Linked DNA regions of Homo sapiens: region 2 is linked to region 1. The links are contacts of gene promoters, found by promoter capture Hi-C in blood cells and fetal thymus (Javierre and others, 2016). All regions are on one chromosome and are shown on one strand. The core of a region is centred on a gene start or on the middle of the fragment in contact, and the rest is flanking DNA. Distances in the headings are between cores, read along the strand shown. Region 1 holds the start of ESF1 (ESF1 nucleolar pre-rRNA processing protein). Region 2 overlaps CRNKL1 (crooked neck pre-mRNA splicing factor 1).

Region 1 (3,654 bases), core at 10-2,509:
CCAACTTTGTTCCACTCCTGAATAAAAATTTACTGAGGCCTGAACTTGAGAATGCGTGTCCTGAAAGTAGAAACCCTCAGTCTCTGGCTCACCTGGGCAGGGAGAAAGGTTTCTCAAACGAGCCAAGACAAATCAGAAATCTTAATTTGATCTTCCTAAAACATAAGTCAGATCACTCCACTGATTAAAACAAGAGCTTCACATTCCCCTAGAGCAGTGCTGACCAAAAATCATGAGAGCCACATATGTAATTTCAAATTTTCTAGTAGCCACATAAGAAAAAAAGTAAAAACGAGAGAAATTTTAATTGAAAAATTTAAATTTATATTTAATATATTTCATGTGACCCAATATATCAAAAATAATCACTGCAACATGTAATCAATATAAAAGCTCTTAATGAGCTATTTTACATCCTTTTTTCATACTAAGTCACTATACTCGTGTGTATTTTACAACACATCTCAATTGGACTAGTCACCTTTCAAGTGTTCAACAGCCACATGTGTGGCCGGCAGTTACCATACTGGCTGGACAGTGCAGATACAGAAGAAAACCCCAAGTCCCTATCCTGCAAGGCCCTGATGATTTGGGTCCTCCTAACCTTCTCTCCCACTCTCTCCCTCTCCGGAGCTTCACTGGAGGCCTCTATAAGGTCCTTTCAGCCTCAAGGACGTTGCCGAAATGAATGCATGAATGAATGAAAGCATGTTACAAATATCCGAGGCCAGGCCTTGCGTGATTACAGTAGAGGCCGAAAGAGGCAGGGCTGCTGGTCAAGGTCAGACGGCTAGGTGGGGTGAGCTCGGGGCCTAGCCGGAACTAGCGGAGAGGAAAACAAGCCTCCGCGTCGCCCGCCCCGCCGCCCCGCCGCCCCGCGGGCTCACCTCCTCCTTCAGGTAGTCAAATTTGGTCGGCTCGGGCTGCCGGGCTGCCCAGTTCTTCTGTTTCCTTTTCAAATCCCGGTCGAAAATATTCAGGGTTCTGGGCGAGGTGCTACCGCGGGGAGAGACACCAGAGGTGACTTCCCTACGGCCAAGATTCTCCGCTGGGACCCTCGCCGCCCAAGGTCGCCGACATAAGCGCCAGAGCCCTGCCGGCCGCAGCATCTCCAGCTGCGACCCCAATTGCCGGCGCTTTTTGTGCGCATGCGCCAGCGCGGCTTTTGTGTCTACTCCAAAGATCTTCTCGAGGGAACGTGCAAGTAGTTTGGCCTAGTTCGCTTGCCATTACGGCGGAGCGTCACGCGGAGGATTGTGGGTGTGAGCCCCACGTGAGGCTTGGTAGGACTGCGGACGGTGAGTGGGGATGGACTGGAGTTGAAGAGCTCGAGATGAAGGGCTTGAGGGCGTGTGTGTGTGTGGCGCGGGGAAAAAACTAGTCTCTAACAGGATCTCTTTCGGATCTGCGAGGGGTTTTGCCCCTTCCTCCTGAGCCTTTTTCGGTCTCATTCTTCAGTCTTCATCGATCCTTTTCAGGGTCGCTTCTCGAATCAGTCTGTTAGCTGCCCCCCTGCGGTACAGGAGGTGGAAAGGAGACCCTAGTTCAGGGGCCAGCCCTGTGTTCTCCGAATTAGAGAGCGGGCAGAAGGGGAGGGTGGGCTACGGGGATGCGGGCGCGTGTCGGGAGTGAGGTCCGGTCGCCTTCCCCTCTCTCGGATTATCTGACATATAATGAGTGCTTTCCTTCTAAACATTTACAATACATGCAGTACTTCTCCTGGTTGAGGTGGTACCTACCTCGTAAGATTGCTCAGAGAGTTAAGTGCTGTAATACATCGAAAAATGTGTAAATGCACCAGCGATAGCTTCCTTTTTTTTCCTAGTTAGTGTAATTAAAAGGACTTGATTTTTAAATAAGAAATATTGCCCTTTTAATCATTTTGGGGGGGGGTTGCTTAATAATCAACGACTTTTGGCTCTTTGCAAAATTCCCATCCAGAGATGCTAAACCATTGGAGACTTTTCACAAGGGAACAATATTAATTTATACACACATATGTATATGTTCTAGTATGTTTTGGGGGAATGAGCTCACTTGGGCCTTCATCACTGGTAGAATCAGATATTATAGAAAGAAGTGATATTTATTAACTGGTGTGAGACTTTACCTGGAGACTCAAATTTACTTTTTATTTTTAAACTTTTTATTACTTTTGAAGGATGATCGAATTTAAAAAGGAAACTTTCTTAGCTAAACCTGAGTTGATTTTGGTCTGTTTAGTTAGAATGCTAGTCTTACAGAACTAAAGGCTGTTTGTTGGCAGTAGCCGGAGATAAGGAGTAAGCAGAATGAGACCAGAATGTGAAGAAACAAATGAGGCCAACGGAGGCTAGGGAATCTTTCTTTCTTACTTTTTTTTGGTAGACAGGGTCTCACTCTGTTGCCCCAGCTGGTGTGCTGTAGTGCCGTTAGGCTCACTCTAGCCAAGACCTCCCGGGTGGAAGTGATCCTCTTGCCTTAGCCTCCAAAGTAGCTGGGACTACAGGCGCGCGCCACCATGCCGGGCTCATTTTTGTATTTCTTGTGGGGATTCACCATGTTACCCAGGCTGGTCCTGAACTCCTGGGCTCAAGTGATCCGCCCGCCTTGGCCTCCGAAAGTGCTGGTGAGCCACCGCACTCGGCCTAGGGAATCTTAACTACATTTGCCTTCAATTAGTAACACATACTGGTATACAAATAGAAATTCTAAGTGAGAGCAATGGATGAATAAACATTTGTTCCCCTCCATAAAGCCCTGGGATTCTGCTTTGTCTACCTTAAGTTTATTTCTCTAAATGATCTGTCATGGAAAGAGGATATTTTGGTATGTTTCTGCTTTTTTGCATGTGACCCAGAATACGTTGGAGAGATGAAATTAGACTTGTTACCTCTATTTTATGTACACTTAACTTAGAATATATTAACTTAGAATATATTGTGAATGTGTTTTAAAACATTTAATTATTGTACTAACCATTATTACCATTAAAACATTTGTTTTATTTTTCAGTATTTGTTTTCTTCAAGCATTTGGTCGAGATTAAGAATTAAAAATGTCATCCAAACAAGAAATAATGAGTGACCAGCGGTTTAGACGGGTTGCAAAGGACCCGAGATTTTGGGAAATGCCAGAAAAGGATCGAAAAGTCAAAATTGACAAGAGATTTCGAGCCATGTTTCATGACAAGAAGTTCAAGTTGAACTATGCCGTGGATAAAAGAGGGCGCCCCATTAGCCATAGCACTACAGAGGATTTGAAGCGTTTTTACGACCTTTCAGATTCTGATTCCAATCTCTCTGGTGAAGATAGCAAAGCATTGAGTCAAAAGAAAATAAAGAAGAAAAAAACCCAGACTAAAAAAGAAATCGATTCAAAAAATCTAGTTGAGAAAAAGAAAGAAACCAAGAAGGCTAATCACAAGGGTTCTGAAAATAAAACTGATTTAGATAATTCTATAGGAATTAAAAAAATGAAAACCTCATGTAAATTTAAGATAGATTCAAACATAAGTCCGAAGAAGGATAGCAAAGAATTTACACAAAAAAATAAGAAAGAGAAAAAAAACATTGTTCAACATACTACAGACTCTTCTCTCGAAGAAAAACAAAGGACATTAGACTCAGGCACCTCTGAAATTGTGAAATCTCCCAGAATCGAGTGTTCTAAGAC
Region 2 (3,213 bases), core at 533-3,032, 6.3 Mb before region 1:
TTAAGTCCCTCATATAAAATGATGTAGTATTTGCATGTAACCTATGCATAGCCTCCCATATAATTCAAATAATCTCTAGATTACTTATACCTAATGCAATGTAAATGTTATATAAATAATTGTTATTCTGTATATTTTAAGGAATAATAAGCAAAAAAACGACATGTTCAATACAGAAGCACTTTTTTCTCACGAATACTTTATCTCAGGTTGGTTGAATCCACAGATATGGAACCCATGGCTGGAGGACTAACTGTACTAAGGTCCTGGCTGCCATTGCCAGTCCTGTTTTTCTAAGGTTTGTGTTGGTCATTACTACCTTACTGGAGTTCATCCAAGGTTTACTGTTTACTAGCTGTGTGGCTCCAGAGAGTCATTTAACTCCTTTGAGAGTTGGTGTCCTCTTCTTAAAAACAAGAATAAAAACACCTTTGTTGGGCTGTTGCGAAGATTAAATGATACACATGAAAGCACTTTTAGAAACTGAAGTACAGTCATTCCTCACTATTTGCAGATTCCATGTTTGCAAAATCACGTATTTGCTAAAATTTATTTGTAACCCCCAAAATCAGTAATTGTGGCACTTTCACAGTCATTTGTGGACATGCACAGAGCATGAAGTCCAACAAGGTGAGGCTTGCCTTCTGGTCTTAACCTCATATAACCATGCCTAGAGCTTGGAGACAGGAAGGGCCAGTGCCATGTAGTGCAAGGAGCTGTGGCTCTGGGGCCAGTCGGGGAGTTTGAATCCCTGTCAGTGGGGCAGCCTCAGTCCAGTCACTTAACATTTCTGAACCACTTTTCTTACAAAATAATGAAGATAGAATCTGCCAGGATGAGTTCTTTTTAGGATTTAAGATGATGATGAATGTGAGATTGTATATATACACGTTTCTCCTAGGAGCAGTGGTTCAGTACTCAATAATTAAGTGTTCGCATTGACTAAATAGAACATAACTACCAGAAATAATGAGAGTCAACTTTATTATGCAGTATTAAGATCTTTTTATTTTTTTACTCTTCTCTGTTGAGGTGACAATGTTAAGATCTTAATTATGTCTACTAATTTTAATATTATTAGTTTGACGAAAGCTTTTATAGCACTTGCTACGTGCCAGGCAGTATTCTAAGTACTTTACAGATATTGTTGTTTAATCCTCATAACATCCTTGCAGTGTAGGAACTTCTCTGTCCTACAGATGAGGGAGCTGAGGCATGAGAGATTAAGTAGCTTGACTGGGTTCTCACAGGTGCTGATGGAAATAGAATGTGAACCTAGTAGAGCAGCTTCAGAACTGATGCTCTTCTTTGCCATATTGGAATATATTACTACTTTGGAAATTAATGATTTATTCAAGGAAGATAGATTAAAATGACAATTCAAAACTTTCTGCTTTGACTCTAGTTAACAGTTTTCTTTTTATAGCATGTTTTTTTCTTAATTATTAGTTCAAGTATTCATATTTTAATATAATTGGTGCTATTTAATGACCAGACCATTATTGACCGCTTACGGTGCCATGTTCTTTTGGCTAGAAACTGTGCTAAGGGCTTTACATACATTTTCTCATTTAAAGCTGGCAGTAATCCAGTGAGGCTGGCATTATTTTTCCCTGTTTACAAATGAAACAGCTGAGACTTAGACGTCTAAGTTCAGTGACTTATCCAAGATCACATGGTTGGTAACCTGGGTTGAGATTTTTCTTTGCTTCCAACTCGAGTTTATACCCACCACTAAAATCTTAACTAAGCACTGGAGGAAAATAGAGATGAACAGGCGTGGCCCTGCTCTCACAGAAGCCACTGTTTAATTCTACACTTTTGTATGTGTTTTGTTCCCCTAGAGTTGTAGTTTGAATTTTTGGAGTTTCCAGGCTTTGGTATGGTTTTGGTGTTTACTTACTTACTATTTTTTTAAGCCATGCTGTTTTGCCTGGGATTTCCTTAATTCCCTTGCACTTGTCCTCGTGCACCCTGATGTTAAGAACTGGATCAAGTATGCCCGCTTTGAAGAAAAACATGCTTATTTTGCCCATGCACGGAAAGTGTATGAGAGAGCTGTGGAATTCTTTGGAGATGAACATATGGATGAGCACCTTTATGTTGCCTTTGCCAAGTTTGAAGAAAATCAGAAAGAGGTAAGTATACCTAACTTCATTATACTGTAAAACAGCTTAGCAAAGATTACATTTTGTGCATGGTGAGTTCATTTCCATTTTTTCTTACTGACATATCCCTGGAAAGATGTTTTCAAAATACAAAAACACAGCTTCTCACAGAGAACAGCATATATATGTGACTAAGCTACAGATGGGAGCTGATTATAGATTGTATTATAACTGTCTTAATTTTATTGTGCTTTGTTTGAAAATTAAGCCTTTTAGTCTGAATGCCCGTAAACTGAGAACTAGTCTTTTGGCATCCTAAGTAAAGGACTTAACCGATAATAAATATGGGAAACAAAAAGCTTAAAGCCCTAGAACAGAAAACATTTAGAATGGAAACAGAGATTGCCCTACAAATAAGAGAGTTCTTTTTTTCCCTTGTACCTATGAAAATAGCTCAAATATTGAGAAGATGAGGCAGAAGGATCACTTGAGGCCAGGAGTTTGAGACCAGCCTGGGCAACATAGTGAGACCCTGTCTCTAAAAAAAAAAATTGAGTGGGCATAGTGGTGCACACCTACAGTCCCAGCTACTTGGGAAGCTGAGGCAGGAGTATCACTTGAGCCTAGGAGTTTGAGACTACAATGAGCTATGTTCGTGCCATTGCACTCTAGCCTGGGTGACAGAGCAGGACCCCATTTCTTAAAAAAAAAGGGAGTTCAAATAATACAGAATTGAGATCCATCCAAATACAGGTTTGAGCATTCCCAGTCTGAAAATCCAAAACTCAAAATGTGAAACTTGTTGAGTGCTGACATGACACTCGAAGGAAATGTTCATTGGAACATTTCAGACTTCGGGTTTTTGGATTAGGGATGCTGAACCAGTAAGTATAATGCAAATATTCCCAAACTGGGGAAACATCCCAAATCCAAAACACTTCTGATACCAAATGCTTCAGACAAGAGATACTCAACCTATATAAGGTCTTGCACGGACCATGCTAGGGAGTTCAGATTCTGTTCGGGCCAGTGGGAAGCATTGAAAGGTTTTAAGCGGGACAGTGATTGGATATGATTTATATTTTAAGGAGAGCCTCTGGCTAAT

The links. Contacts are between HindIII fragments. The CHiCAGO score rates a contact against its expected background, and 5 or more counts as called.
Region 2: a fragment that was not itself captured here is called in contact with the fragment with the promoter of ESF1 in region 1 in 1 of 17 cell types (total CD4 T cells); the score reaches 8.2 in total CD4 T cells.

Annotation. Positions count from the first base shown.
Region 1 is chr20:13,782,524-13,786,177 of GRCh38, reverse strand. It overlaps ESF1 (ESF1 nucleolar pre-rRNA processing protein), which reads left to right and starts at 1,259. Exons shown (of 14, transcript NM_001276380.2): 1 at 1,259-1,298; 2 at 2,995-3,654. The coding sequence starts at 3,038. NDUFAF5 (NADH:ubiquinone oxidoreductase complex assembly factor 5) reads right to left here and starts at 1,150. Exons shown (of 11, transcript NM_024120.5): 1 at 888-1,150. The coding sequence starts at 1,109. RefSeq lists enhancers at 240-929, 925-1,214. The HindIII fragment of the contact is 9,427 bases long and covers 1-3,654 here.
Region 2 is chr20:20,044,233-20,047,445 of GRCh38, reverse strand. CRNKL1 (crooked neck pre-mRNA splicing factor 1) reads left to right here. Exons shown (of 14, transcript NM_001278628.2): 6 at 1,960-2,138. Among named protein-coding and RNA genes, the nearest start is that of CRNKL1, 6.6 kb to the left of the region's middle. The HindIII fragment of the contact is 1,375 bases long and covers 1,095-2,469 here.